Regions from separate parts of the Homo sapiens genome. Here region 2 is linked to region 1. Evidence: promoter capture Hi-C in 16 types of primary human blood cells and fetal thymus (Javierre and others, 2016). All regions are on one chromosome and are shown on one strand. Each heading gives the region's core, a stretch centred on a gene start or on the middle of the fragment in contact. The rest is flanking DNA. Distances are from core to core; before and after follow the strand shown.

The links. Contacts are between HindIII fragments. The CHiCAGO score rates a contact against its expected background, and 5 or more counts as called.
Region 2: a fragment that was not itself captured here is called in contact with the fragment with the promoter of RPL38 in region 1 in 4 of 17 cell types (total CD8 T cells, total CD4 T cells, naive CD4 T cells and 1 more); the score reaches 7.3 in total CD8 T cells.

What each region holds. Positions count from the first base shown.
Region 1 is chr17:74,199,757-74,206,754 of GRCh38, forward strand. RPL38 (ribosomal protein L38) reads left to right here and starts at 3,922. Exons shown (of 5, transcript NM_000999.4): 1 at 3,922-3,989; 2 at 4,162-4,202; 3 at 4,374-4,434. The coding sequence starts at 4,200. RefSeq lists a silencer at 154-203 and enhancers at 3,158-3,661, 4,670-5,174, 5,175-5,678. The HindIII fragment of the contact is 15,941 bases long and covers 124-6,998 here.
Region 2 is chr17:74,347,046-74,353,711 of GRCh38, forward strand. KIF19 (kinesin family member 19) reads left to right here. Exons shown (of 20, transcript NM_153209.4): 9 at 732-854; 10 at 2,139-2,304; 11 at 3,356-3,530; 12 at 3,662-3,860; 13 at 4,822-5,092; 14 at 5,174-5,295; 15 at 5,776-5,909; 16 at 6,151-6,256; 17 at 6,449-6,536. Among named protein-coding and RNA genes, the nearest start is that of BTBD17, 11 kb to the right of the region's middle. RefSeq lists an enhancer at 5,205-5,735. The HindIII fragment of the contact is 1,511 bases long and covers 1,192-2,702 here.

The DNA of each region.
Region 1 (6,998 bases), core at 2,672-5,171:
GAAGGGGCTATTCCGTTTCCAGCCGCGGCCTCAGCGCCCCCGTGCGGCCGCCAGTGGACACAGCACCCAGGGCGGGCCTTGCCTGAGAGGTGCGGGTTGGAGCTTTGCGAATCACCCCATAGAAGCTTCGCTGCAACCCTGCGAGGCGGGAGAGAGGCGACAGCACACACACTCCCACCCCCAAAACATACACACACGTGCACGCACACACACACAGAAACCAGGAAACTAAGGCTCGGAAGATCACCGCTGGGCAGTGAAGGAGGTGCTATGGACCCCAGGGATGGGCCCTTGGGTGACGATGACCACAGCGGGCATAAGTGAGGCTGGAAGGGGAACTCCTGAAGGCCCTGAACTCCAGCCCAACTCCCCCTCCAGCCTCTTCTCCCCGACCCCCTGCCCCAGACCCTCCTTACCTCTGCCACACTGAACTTCCCACTCATTCTCAGAAACACCCCGCATTCTCCTGACCCTGGGCTGACGTCAGCTCCCTCCCTCCTTCTGTCTGGAAGTCCTTCTCCGGGCAAGCTGCTGCGCACCCCTCTCGGAGGCAGCAGACTGTGTCCCCTCCTCCACGAAGCCTTCCAGGACTCCCTCAGGAGGAATTAGACCCCTAGCCTCTGGGCATCCTCCACAGCTTATTATGGGATCCCAACAGTCATGAGTGTTTGGAGCAGGAACCGCATTCTGCTTATTCCCAAGCCCAGCCCGATGTTCACCAAGTGAACGGAATGGATTGAATGGGGGAAAATCCTGGAGGTTGGGAAGTCTTCCCAGCCATGTGCCGTGCCAGCCCTCTGCCCACCTGCGAGCTGGGGCATTGGGGTTTTTTTGACCCATCCTGGTCCTCTTTCCAATGTGTCCCTGAAAACTGAAGAGAGAACTCTAAACCATTTGGCCTTCAGAGGTGGCCAGAGTGGGGCTGCTGGAGGGAGGAGGGGAGGCCCGGTGACTTCTGAGGCCCTCTCTGCCCAGAGCCAGCAGAGTGAGGGAAGGGAAGGAAGGAAAAGGGTTGGATTGTGTCCTGTAGCTCCGGACATGCCCTCTGAGCCTCTCCTGCCTCCAGCCATGCTGCAACACACTGCTTGAGACCCTCCCTACCGCCTCTTGACAACAGCAATAGCCCTCACCATCCCACAGCTGCCAGCACTGGACATTCCAGCCTACCAATGGCCAGAGCGACCATAACAGGCAGCCTGGGCCATCCTGCCCTCGAGTCCGGGGCTTTCCTCTCCTGCAGGATCCACCCTAGGCCCTGGAGAGTTTTGTTTCATGTGTATATGGGAGTCATCAGGGAGGCTCATGTCCAGGTCAGCATCTGCTCAAGGTCTCAGGCTGTGGCACTCAGGGCCTAGGCTCTGCCCCCCTTGGTCTCTGACAGTCCCCGGCCACTCCAGGACATTTGGGGCTCATCTTCCCATGGAGCAGGGAAGCGTGCCCTCTGGGCACCTTGCCTCACTTTTAGTAGCTGCAGCTTATTTTGCTATTTGTCCCCCTTGGGGAGCTGGAGGTCTTTGGTACTTGAACAAATTTGCCATTGTGTTTTGCTACTACACGTCTATGGTCCCTTAAATTATACAACTCAAGAGGGTGAACATCTGTCTCCCTGGGATCGCTGCCAAAAGGGAGGTGCAGCTCCTCCTTCTATCCCCGTCCTTGTCCTGTCGGGCCGGCAGTGAGGCAAGAAGCACCAGTCATTCATTCAACAAATAGTTTTTGGACCTACTACATGCCAGGCACTGCTTCAGGCACGTCAGTGTCTCCTTCTGGCTCTCCCTGAATTCCTCCCTCCATCCACCACCCCTTTATATGGTGAGTGATCTCAGATGCCGCATCCAGCCGGATCATCCTGCAATGTTAGCATTGAGCACTTACTGTACAGATGGGTACTGCACTTCGAGAGTTATCGACAGAATGCTGAGCCCTGTCCTTGCCTTCAAGGAAAAGTGGTAAGGTGGGGCGTAGTGGCTCACACCTGTTATCCTAGCACTTTGGGGGGCCGAGGCAGGAGGATCCCTTGAGCCCAGGAGTTCGAAACCAGCTTGGGCAACCTAGGGAGACCATGTCTCTAAAAAAGTTTTAAAAAATTAAAAATAAAAAGAGTGGTGCGCATGTATGAAAAGTTAAACACCTCCACGCAGCCTACGGAGAAGTGATTGCAAGGAACCACTGTATGAGCGGCAAGCAACATAAGTCAAGGGTGAAGGGTCCTGCCTGAAAAAGGGGAGGCGGGAGCTGAGCTCGGAAGGACCAGTGGCACTTGGCATCAGAGTGGACAGCAGAGCAAATACCTGGAGGGCAGAAAGTGCCCAAAAGTGCCCCTCGGCTTGGCTGAAAGGGTGGTTGCTTGTGGAGGAGCAGTGGGGTAGAAAAGACCAGAAAGGCATCGCCTGAGATGGGAAGGGCTGGCAAAGCCGGGCTCTGAGGTATGGGAAAATCCTTCTCAGGTCAGAGCTGAAGCACTCGTGCTTCTCAGATCGGATCCGACCTTCAGACATCTAAAATTAGGCTTCTGCCAATTAACTTTTCCCACTGCTAGAACCCCGACACATTTACAGTTGCAGAGACATCGTTCAGCTTCTTTAAAAGACTCTTCAGTGTTATTACAATATTTTTGTGATCTCTCTGCAGCAAGGTCTATTGGTTCCTGTATCTCCAGCACCCCCAGGAAGGTGCTCAGCCTGAGCTTGTTAATGGAAGGGCAGGAGGGAGGAAGAAAGGAAGGTTAAGTTAAATAAGTTCTAAGTAAAGCTCATGGCAAAGTGTTCTTTCCCTTCAGGAGGGCCGCTCTGTAATAATAAGCACGAAGCAATTACATTCTGCCGTGTGGTTATTAAATTTTGGGGAAACAAATATAATAAAATGTAGACATTTGTAGGGAGGTTGGAGATAAAATAAAAATGGAGGATAAAAATAAAATCGATAACCGCAGGTTGCTCAGAGTCTAACCTAAAGGATGTTAGGGGGAGAAAGGAACGCTGCCCTCCCCAGGCTTCCCAAGCCTCCCCAGGAAGTGGCCGGAGCCTGGGCTGGGGAATCTGCCCAGCAGGGGTTCAACTCCTGAGTCCACCTCTCCCCTCTGGGGCCGCGGTGAGACCCCGCAAGAGCAGGAGCACTCCCACTCACCATCAGCCCTAGGGGTGAGACACTTAGCCAGGGGCAGCGCTGCGACAGCTTTTGGAAGTATTATTATTATTATCATTATTGCTAGAGATGGGGGGGGGGAGGTCTTACTAGGTTGCCCAGGCTGCTCTCGAACTCCTGGCCTCAAGCGATCCGCCTGCCTCGGCCTCCCCCAGTGCTGGGGTTATAAGCGTGAGCCACCGCGCCCGGCCTTAACTTGCTTTCATTGTACACCAATTCCTAAGGGAATTGGAAGCAGCAAGCAGGAACGCTCCCTCTTATGGAAAGAAGAGCCCAGGGCCCTGGTCATGACAGGTTCAGGTGCCAAAAAGGAGACGGGAAGAAAACGTGAGGCGCCAGAACAACAGGTTCTACAAGGTGCACACGAGGGTCCCTGCCATTGAATGAAGAATTTTCTGTGTGGATGCCCCTGCGCAGGTCCAATGAAAGCCGTGGAGAATAAGCGTTAGCTCTTCAAACTGAATCTGAGCTAAAACCTAGCAAAGCCAGGCTGGGGTCTGAGGGGTTGCGGGGGAAGACAGGAAGGGGTGGACGGGGAAGAGGCGGGGGTCCTAGGAGGAAGGGATGGGGAGGAGCGAGAGGAGGGAGGCGGAGGGAGGGCGGCAGCCAGGATGGTCCATTCCATTCTTGGAGCTGCACTGTTGACTTCGACCACAAGGGGGCAGGGCTGCTGAAATTGGAAGTGCGAACGCCTACATGAGTCTTGATCCTCGGCAGGCACCGTACCCAGTTTCCTCCGTTGGGAGGGTTTAACTGCCCGGAAACGGAAGTCTCGTTCTTTTTCGTCCTTTTCCCCGGTTGCTGCTTGCTGTGAGTGTCTCTAGGGTGATACGTGGGTGAGAAAGGTAATCTGGGGCAATCCACTGCCAGGTGAAATCTGGGGACCCCAGGTCCGCGTGGAGGGTGTCGGGGAGGAGAAGGGGAGTGCGATGGGGCCGATATTTCGGGGGAGAGCGGGAAAACGGGGTTCGCTGCCAGCCCCCGCGCCGTGTTAACGCCGAGGACTGTTTCCCGCAGGTCCTGGTCCGCGCCAGAGCCCAGCGCGCCTCGTCGCCATGGTGAGTACAGTCCCTGCCTGGCGCCTTCCCGGGGTGGGCTCGTGGGGCCCCGGGGCGAGGGCGAGAGAGCCTCCCAAGGATCTCCTGAGGCCGGGAGAAGCTGGTGGACTGGGCCATCGCCGGGAGACGTGTCTCTTTCCTCTCTGTTCACCCGCTTCCTTTGTGTTGCAGCCTCGGAAAATTGAGGAAATCAAGGACTTCCTGCTCACAGCCCGACGAAAGGATGCCAAATGTAAGTGGTTGCTCCGAAGGTTCAAGAAGAGCGGTGCCTAGCCTGGCACCGCTCCGGGAGCGTCTTCCCCGGAATGTCAGGCAGGAGACGGTTAGGCCGTCTGGGTGTGTGCCTGGCCCTCTGGGAGCAGTGGTTTCATCCTGTTTCCCATGAGAAAGACCTGTGGGGGGCACGTTGAGGCCCTGGAATTTCTAGGACCATCTTTAGCTAATCGCGATCATCTCAGAGGCCGCCCTGAGTTCAGTTTTCTTTCGTATAATATAGTAAATTGTCGGAACGGAATCTCCACTCCGCGAAAGCCTCAAAACACACGTCCCATAAACACTGTTTAGGTTCTCTGCAGTTGTGCAAAATCTTAACACAAAATCCATTTTGTAATAAAGTGCTGGATATTTGCATGTAATGTATCGAGCACGGCACACTGTGTAGTATGGTCGTTTACCTCGTGATCCTGTGGTCGCTGGCCAGTGTCAGAAGGTATCATACCTATCTAATCCAGAAAAATATTTAAAAAAATTTTTTTTTTTCTTTGAGACAGTCTGGCTCTGTCGCCCAGGCTGGATTGCAGTGGTGCGATCTTGGCTCACTGCAATTACCGCCTCCCAGGTTCAAGCGATCCCCCTGCCTCAAAGTAGCTGGGCGCGCCACCATGCCTAGCTGATTTTTGTGTTTTTGGTAGAGACAGAGTTTCACCATGTTGGCCAGGCTGGTCTCGAACTCCTAACCTCAGATGATCCACCTGCCTCCGCCTCCCAGAGTGCTGGGATTACAGGTGTGAGCCACTGTGCCCCGCCAAGATCAAAATTTGAAGCAGGGCTTCTACTGAATGTATATCGCATTACCACCATTGTAAAGTCACAGAGTTTAAGTTGGACTGTCATAGGTCTGTTTCCCAGCTTGTACATACAGGGGAAAGAAGGTGATTAATGAAAAACCTTAAACAGCAGGTTTTCGATGGATAGGTGCCAATCTCTGCTGCCCACTTACTTAAATTTTTACACCAAGTGTGAGAGGTAGTTGTGTTACTCCTTTGTGATACTTGAAGGAGATTGGGGGGGCTTGTGTTTGATACAAGCTAGGTCTTGAGTTATGTTGTTACTTTAACCCAGTCATCTTTTTTCAGCTGACTGAGAATCAGGTCACATGTGGAAGTGAGGTTGCATGGGACAGGCCTGTTAAGGTGGGCTAAGACACCAGCCGTCTCTAATGCTCTGCCAGCCGTGGTGCCAGACGGTGGTTGGTGTACAGGGAGAGTCTTTCAATGAGTTGGGGGTAGGCAGAGATGGGGGTCATATTTGTGTCCCCATTACCCAAAACAGGCTGTCACCTTTGAGGTAGTGACCACCTGTGGGGACAAATAGCATCTGGTGGGAATGATGACTGTTGGCTAGTGTTTTGTGTAAAGAGATGAGGTTATCAGGTCAGTTTTATTTCAGACCATATGGGGTCACTGCCTAGTTTGAAGCCCAACTCTACCTGCAGGTAACTTACCCTTCTCAGCAAGTTAAACACGACACCACCGTTTGATTGTGTTTTAAAAGGGTGGTGGTCCGGGCGTGGTGGCTCATGCCTATAATTCCAGCACTTTGGGAGGCCAAAGCGGACAGATCGCTTGAACCAGGAGTTCAAGACCAACCTGGGCGACATGGCAAAACCCCATTTCTACTAAAAATAAAAAAATTAGCCAGGCATGGTGGCACACGCCTGCAGTCCCAGCTACTCAGGAGGCTGAGGCAGGAGAATCAGTTGAACCAAGGAGACGGAGGTTGCAGTGAGCTGAGATTGTCTCACTGCACTCCAGCCTGGGTGACAGAGCGAGACTGTCTCACAAAAAAAATTGGGAACCTTCATTTTAGATGATGTGGCTTTAAAGGTAGTGGTCACAGTCCCCTGGGGACAGTAAAGTGTCAGTAGCTGTTTGTTGAAAAAACTTTTTAAAATGGTTGTATTAATTTTTAACGTGTAATAGGCATAGCGTAAAAGTTACCATTTACACTGGGTATGGTGGTTCCCATCTGTAATCCCAGCACTTTGGGAGACTGAGGCAGATGGATGAGACTAGCCTGGGCATCATAGTGAGACCCTGTCTCTATAAAAGAAAAAAGTTAGCCGGGCGTGTGCTGGTGGTCCTAGCTACTCAGGAGGCTGAGGTAGGATTGCTTGAATCCAGGAAATTGAGGCTATAGTGAGCCACGATTATGCTACTGCACTCCGGGCTGGGCAACAAAGCATAATTGTACAGTTCAGTGGCATTCAGTAAATACACATTGTTGAGCAGCTGCCACCATCACCGCCCATCTCCAGAACTTTATCTTCCCAAACTGAAACTCCCTCTGTTAAACACCAGCTCCCCATTCTTCCCCAGCCCCTGGCAACCACCTTCCAATTTGTCCCTGAATGTGACTGCTCTGGATACCCCATACAAGTGGGTCTGCTATTGCATATTTGACCTTTTGTGACTGGCTTCTCTTCACATGTCCTCAAGCATGTGTCAGAATTGCCTTCTGTTTTTTCTTTCTTTTTTTTTTTTTTTTTTTTTTGACATGGAATGTCACTCTGTTGCC
Region 2 (6,666 bases), core at 697-3,196, 150 kb after region 1:
GAGGAAACTGAGGCACAACTCAGTTAGGTAATGTTCCTAAGGGCTCACACTAGTAAGTGCTGAAAGTAGGATCCAGTCAGAGGCCTCCCTGATCTAATATCAGAGTCACCGCTTACTTAACATTGCCAGCAGCTGCCGTCATGACTGCACCTAGAAGCCGGGGAGGTGGGGACAATTGCAAAAGGACTGCCCCCTTAAAAAGCAAGGAAAGCCGGGTGTGGTGGCTCACGCCTGGAATCCCAGCACTTTGGGAGGCCGAGGCAGGTGGATCACTTAAGGTCAGGAGTTCAAGACAAGCCTGGCCACCATGGTGAAACCCCATCTCTACTAAAAATACAAAAATTGCCCAGGCATGGTGGCAGACGCCTATAGTCCCAGCTACTCGAGAGGCTGAGGCACGAGAATTGCTTGGACCTGGGAGGTGGAGGTTGCAGTGAGCTGAGACAGCGCCACTGCACTCCAGCCTGGATGACAGATCGAGACCCTGTCTCAAAAAAAAAAAAAAAAGAACTAAAGAGGTGAATGAGCTTTATTAAGGTTACACAGCTGGTAATTGCTGGAGCAGGGCTTTCTTCCTCCCAAGCCTCACACCATATGACGCTCAGCAGCCGGGTCCCTTAAGTGTAAAGAGACAGAGAGATTGCACTCGCCAGGGAGGGCATCGTGAACAGCCTGGCAGGAGGAAGGCCTGAGGAGGCAGTCCCCACTGACCACAGCCACCTCCCATCCAGGACTCTCTGGGAGGAAACAGCCGCACAGTGATGATCGCTCACATCAGTCCTGCGAGCAGTGCCTTCGAGGAGTCCCGGAACACCCTGACCTACGCCGGCCGGGCCAAGAACATTAAGACTAGGGTGAGGGCCCCTGGACCGTCCACCAGGACACACCTTCCTGGGCTGAGATTCAAGCCCCCGGGCTGATCCCTGCCACCCCACTGCACTCTCTGGAACCAGCCACTGCTGCACTGGCCTCATTCCCTAGTTGATCGTCACCTGTACACTTTCCCTGCACCTCCAAACCCTGCTCCTCTGCCGGGAAGCCGACAGCTCCCAAGGGTCCCCGCTTCCTCCAGTCCCAGGACTGTGCTCCCCCTGCCTCATCCCCTCTTCTCTTCCCTTCCTCGTCTTCAGATGCTCATTTAGACCTTTGCATTTCCAAAGCACCTCTTCATGATGGTCATCACAGGAGGCAAGCTTCATTGAGCACTTGCTCTGAGCTGTTTCACATGCTACCTCCTTTGATCCTCAAAAAACAGCAGTATTATTGCGGTTCCCATGTACAGATTAGGACAGCAAGGCTTAAGGAAGTTAAGTGACTTCCCAGCTGGCCAGTGATGGCGCTGAGGATGGAAATGAGATCTGCCCCGTTTCCAAGTCCGTGTCCTCACCTGTCTGTAAGCATGTCGGAACCCTTGCCATCCGCTTAGAAATCCATTTCCACCTGTTCGTGTGTGGAGGAGTGGGAATGGATTCATGTATGATAGCATGTAGGGAACATTCTCCCAACACCTAACACTTGCCAGCTGCTGCCCTGAGGGCTGTAAGTTTTATTCCAACCCCTCAATGGGGGACGGGAGACACATTCTTGAAACAGCTCATTGATGGTTCAGAATATTCCTAATAGCAGGTAAATGATGCCAATGGTAGGTGCTGGGGCAAGACAGGAACAGGAGGTGGGGGTGGCCTGGTGGGGTCCAGTGGAACTCTCTGGAGACTGTGAGTGGGACCCTGAAGGCTGGGAGGACATTCCAGAAAGGTGGGAGCAGGGAGAGCACAGGTTCCAAAGGCAGGAAGGGGATGGCGTCTGTGGTGGGTATGGGGAGAGCAGGACAGGTCTTCAACTGGAGTGGGATGTTCATGCAGGAGCGGTGAGCCCAGAGAAAATCAGAGAGATGGGGGTGGCCCTTCAACAACGGGTGGAGGAATGAGGACGTTCCCCGCAGGCATTAGGAAGCCACTGAAGGTTGATGAGATCTAGCAGTGAGTGTGACAGGAGGTTGTGGAAGTGGAGGAAAGGAGGCCATTACTGTCACCCAGAAAGACTGGGGGAGGCAGGGGGAAGAAAGGCCCTGCAGGCAGGCCTCGGTGAGTGCACCTGGGGTGACTGCATCCCCTCCGCTCCATACGTGTTCCCTGCAGGTGAAGCAGAACCTCCTGAACGTCTCCTACCACATCGCCCAGTACACCAGCATCATCGCTGACCTGCGGGGCGAGATCCAGCGACTCAAGCGCAAGATTGATGAGCAGACTGGGCGGGGCCAGGCCCGGGGCCGGCAGGATCGGGGTGACATCCGCCACATCCAAGGTGCGCCTGTGGGTCTGTGTGAGTGGCAGCCCCCTCCGGCCAGCCTCACGTTGCTCTGGGATCAGGCCATGTTGTGTTCAAATCCAGAATCGGGCTCTTTCTGGCTGGGTGGTTGAGCTAGGCACTCACCAGCTCTGAGCCTCCTAGCATTCAGCTGTTAAATGGGGTTGTGATCTCTGCTTCAGACAGTTACCAGAGATCACAAGCCGATTTCCCAACCCCACCTTGGAAGAGTAGGTGGGATCCCACGAGGGAGAGGCACGTGAGCAATGAGCTGCGCAGGGCGCACACTAAGGGCTGTGGCGTAGGGCTGCGAGGTCATGCCTGCACCCCCGGAATGGGCTCCGTTTCCTTGTAGACCTGCATATTTGCTATGATGGTTTTCCAACAGACAGTAAAGCTTTTTTTAAAAAAAAATTTACTAATATAAAGAGAGAGGCAGACAGTAAAGATTTTTTTTTTTTTTTGAGACAGAGTCTTGCTCTGTTGCCCAGGCTGGAGTGCAGTGGCATGATCTAGGCTTACTGCAACCTCTGCCTCCCGGGTTCAAGCGATTCTTCTGCCTCAGCCTCCCAAGTAGCTGGGATTACAGGTGCCCGCCACCACACCTGGCTAATTTTTGTATTTTTAGTAGAGACGAGGTTTCACCATGTTGGCCAGGCTGGTCTCGAACTCCCGACCTCAGGTGATCTGCCTGCCTAGGCCTCCCAAAGTGCTGGGATTACAGGTGTAAGCTACTGTGCCTGGCCACAGACGGTAGTTTCTAGGGGCACCTTTTTATAGTTGGCACAGAGGTGCTGTAAGGGTTAGCAGGAGCCCAGTTCATACCAAGGAGCTGGGAATTGCTTTTGGGCAACAGCTTGAAGACTCAATGTGGGAGTGGGGTCTGGGAGGATGTAGTAATCTAGGGGGTCTTCCTGGAGGAAGCAGTTGGACAGGAAGTGGGAGCACTGAGTTGGGAAGAAAAGGAGGGGAGGGGCCCAGGTGGGCCCAGGCTTTGCTAGCTGAACTTGCCGCCTCCTCTACCTTGCCCACCCTCACCCATCGGCAGCTGAGGTCCAGCTGCACAGCGGGCAGGGTGAGAAGGCTGGCATGGGACAGCTTCGGGAGCAGCTCGCCAGCGCCTTCCAGGAGCAGATGGATGTGCGGAGGCGCCTGCTGGAGCTGGAGAACCGCGCCATGGAGGTCCAGATTGACACCTCCCGACACCTGCTCACCATCGCCGGGTAAGCCCCCCTCCCAGGACCCTCCAGGCCCCACCCCTGTGCCTGGGACAGAGGAGCACGACCTGTGGCTGTACAGTGTGCCCTGCCCCCATGGCCTGAATGCCCTGTCTCTCTGGGTGGGGCTGCGGCAGCTGGAAGCATGAGAAGTCCCGCCGGGCCCTCAAATGGCGGGAGGAGCAGCGAAAGGAGTGCTACGCTAAGGACGACAGCGAGAAGGACTCAGACACAGGTGATGACCAACCAGACATCCTGGAGCCACCCGAGGTGGCCGCAGCCCGGGAGAGCATTGCAGCCCTGGTGGACGAGCAGAAGCAACTGCGCAAGCAGAAGGTGTCCAGGGTTTGGGGGGACAAGGAGAGTGGGTTTAGGGGACAGGGTGAGCAGGTTTGAGAGGCAAGGCGGAGGGGCCAGGGTGGGGGTAGCCGTGAGACTTGGGAACTCAGGCCACAAATCCTGTGTGACTTTGCTAAGCTCTTTAACTTCTCTATGCGTCACATTCCCCACCTGTAAAATGGGAGCAGTCCATGGTGCAGCCCTCATGGGGTTGCTGGGAAGATTACATAAATGCCTGGCACATACCAAGGACTCAAAAAATGGTAACTAATGTTATAATTAGGGTTTTTCAGGCTGGGCACAGTGACTCACACCTGTAATCTCAGCACGTTGGGAAGTTGAGGTAGGCAGATCACTTGAGGCCAGGAGTTCGAGACCAGCCTGGCCAACATGGCGAAATCCCGTCTTTACTAAAAATACAAAAAAAAAAAAAAAAAAGCCTAGTGTGGTGGCTCACGCCTGTAATCCCAGCTACTCGGATGGCAGAGGAATAAGAATCACTTGCAACCCTGCAGAGGTTGCAGGGAGCCGGGATAGCGCCACCGCACTCCAGCCTGGGTGACAGAGAGAGATCCTGTCTCAAAAAAGAAAAATAATAATAATAATTAGGGTTTTCCCAATAACAGATCTTTGCCTTCTGTTCTGGGACATACCCAGACCAAAGGGGCTTTAGGGTATCATGAGCCCTGAGGGGGTCACATGGGCTGGGGTTGAGCAGTTATCCCCCAAGCTGGTTCCAGGGGTGGTTTGCGGTCAGGATAGCAAGAAAGTGGACACTGAGGGGCCACCTTGGAGCAGTCCCTGATTGTAAGGCCCAAGATTCAGCTTTTAGGGTTGGCCTCAGGCTGGAGCTCCAGACAGATGCCTGGAGTCCAGGCGCTGGAGGGTCGAGGACGAGCTGGGCAGGCGGATCGGACCCCTCTCCCCGCTGCCAGATGCTGACCTGCGCCTCCTGCAGCTGGCGCTGGAGCAGCGCTGCCGGGAGCTGCGCGCGCGGGGCCGGCGCCTGGAGGAGACGCTGCCGCGGCGCATCGGCTCCGAGGAGCAGCGCGAGGTGCTCAGCCTGCTGTGCCGCGTGCACGAGCTCGAGGTGGAGAACACCGAGATGCAGTCGCACGCGCTGCTCCGCGACGGTGCGCTCCGCCACCGCCACGAGGCCGTGCGCCGCCTGGAGCAGCACCGCAGTCTCTGCGACGAGATTATCCAGGGCCAGCGGCAGATCATCGACGGTAGGGCCCACGCCCCCGCGCATCTGAGCCACCCGCGGGGGGGCCGCTGGCACTCACTGAGCCCTGCCCCTTCCCCAGCAGACTACAACCTGGCCGTCCCGCAGCGCCTGGAAGAGCTCTACGAAGTGTACCTGCGGGAGCTGGAGGAGGGCAGCCTGGAGCAGGCCACCATCATGGACCAAGTGGCCTCCAGGGCCCTGCAGGTGGGTGGGCGCCTGGGCGGCCTGAACATGGGCACATGTGCCCAGGGAGGGGCTGATGACCAAGGCAATGCCTTCAGGCAGCTGGAGGGGACAGGACCAGGCTGGCTGGCACCCCAGGGAGTTGACTCCCTTTCCTTCTTACCCCACCCAAAGCCTTGTCAAGCCTGAGTAAGACCCTCCTCCTTGGGCACTCCTGGGCATCACTTGCTCCCACCCAGGGTCTGAGGGTCAGGGCTGGCCATCTGAGATATCACAAATGGCTCCAGCTGCCCTCCCAGGAGACCAAGCATCAGGCAGTGCCACTGGGGAAGCCTAGCAGACCACAGCTTAACCCCGAGGACCCAAACACAAGCCCACTGCCCTTCTGGGGCTCCCAGGCCATCTTACAGCCCTTGTCACCCTGTAAGCCTTTGTGACTCTGTGCTGATTTGGTCCAGGACCAAATCTTCTAACTGTCCACCCTGGCTCCCTCCTCCCCAGGACAGCTCCTTGCCCAAAATTACCCCAGCAGGAACCTCACTGACCCCAGATTCTGACCTGGAGAGTGTGAAGACATTGAGCTCTGATGCCCAGCACCTGCAGAACAGCGCCCTCCCTCCCCTCAGCACAGAGAGGTGAGATGGGGGCCACCTGCCCCAGCCCCCACCCTGTGCCCTGTCCCAGAGAGGCCAACCCAGACTAAGGCTAAATGGGGAACACAGAGCAGCAATGAGAGGGAGCAGGTGGCCCAGGTCTGGAGCCAGGACTCCTGGGTTCTCTCTCCTTTCACACCAACAGCTTCTCCCCTGGGGTGGGGGTGGGACCTCGGTGAGATAGCCTGGTCTACAGCCACTCATCTTCCTCTGCCAACTTCAGTGAAGGCCACCACGTGTTCAAGGCTGGTACTGGGGCCTGGCAGGCAAAAAGCTCCTCTGTGCCCACCCCACCTCCCATCCAGCTCGGCAGCCTGGTGACGCAGGAGGTGAGCTCTCAGTACCCGATGGCCCCACGAGCTCCACTGCAGCGGGTGCGGGACATGGGGGTGGACAGCAGCAGTTGGGATGGACCCTTTCCCAAACGGCACCAGCTTGAGGCCCCGCTGTCTCTGCTGAGTGGGGCATGGGGTCCCTGCTGTGTTTAAGGGTTTCCTCCTCCCAACCACTCCACCCCACAGGCCCCGGCTCAGGACAGCCTGGGCAGCTGGATCAACTCTTCCCCTGACAGCAGTGAGAACCTGTCGGAGATCCCCTTGTCCCACAAAGGTATGTGTGCCCTCTGCTGCCCGGCCACCTCACCTGGCCTTGTCTAAACTGTTCAGATCACCCAGCTCAAAGCCCTTTCCTGCCCTCTGCACTGCCAAGTGCAACCAAGCATTGGGTGCTACACATTCTG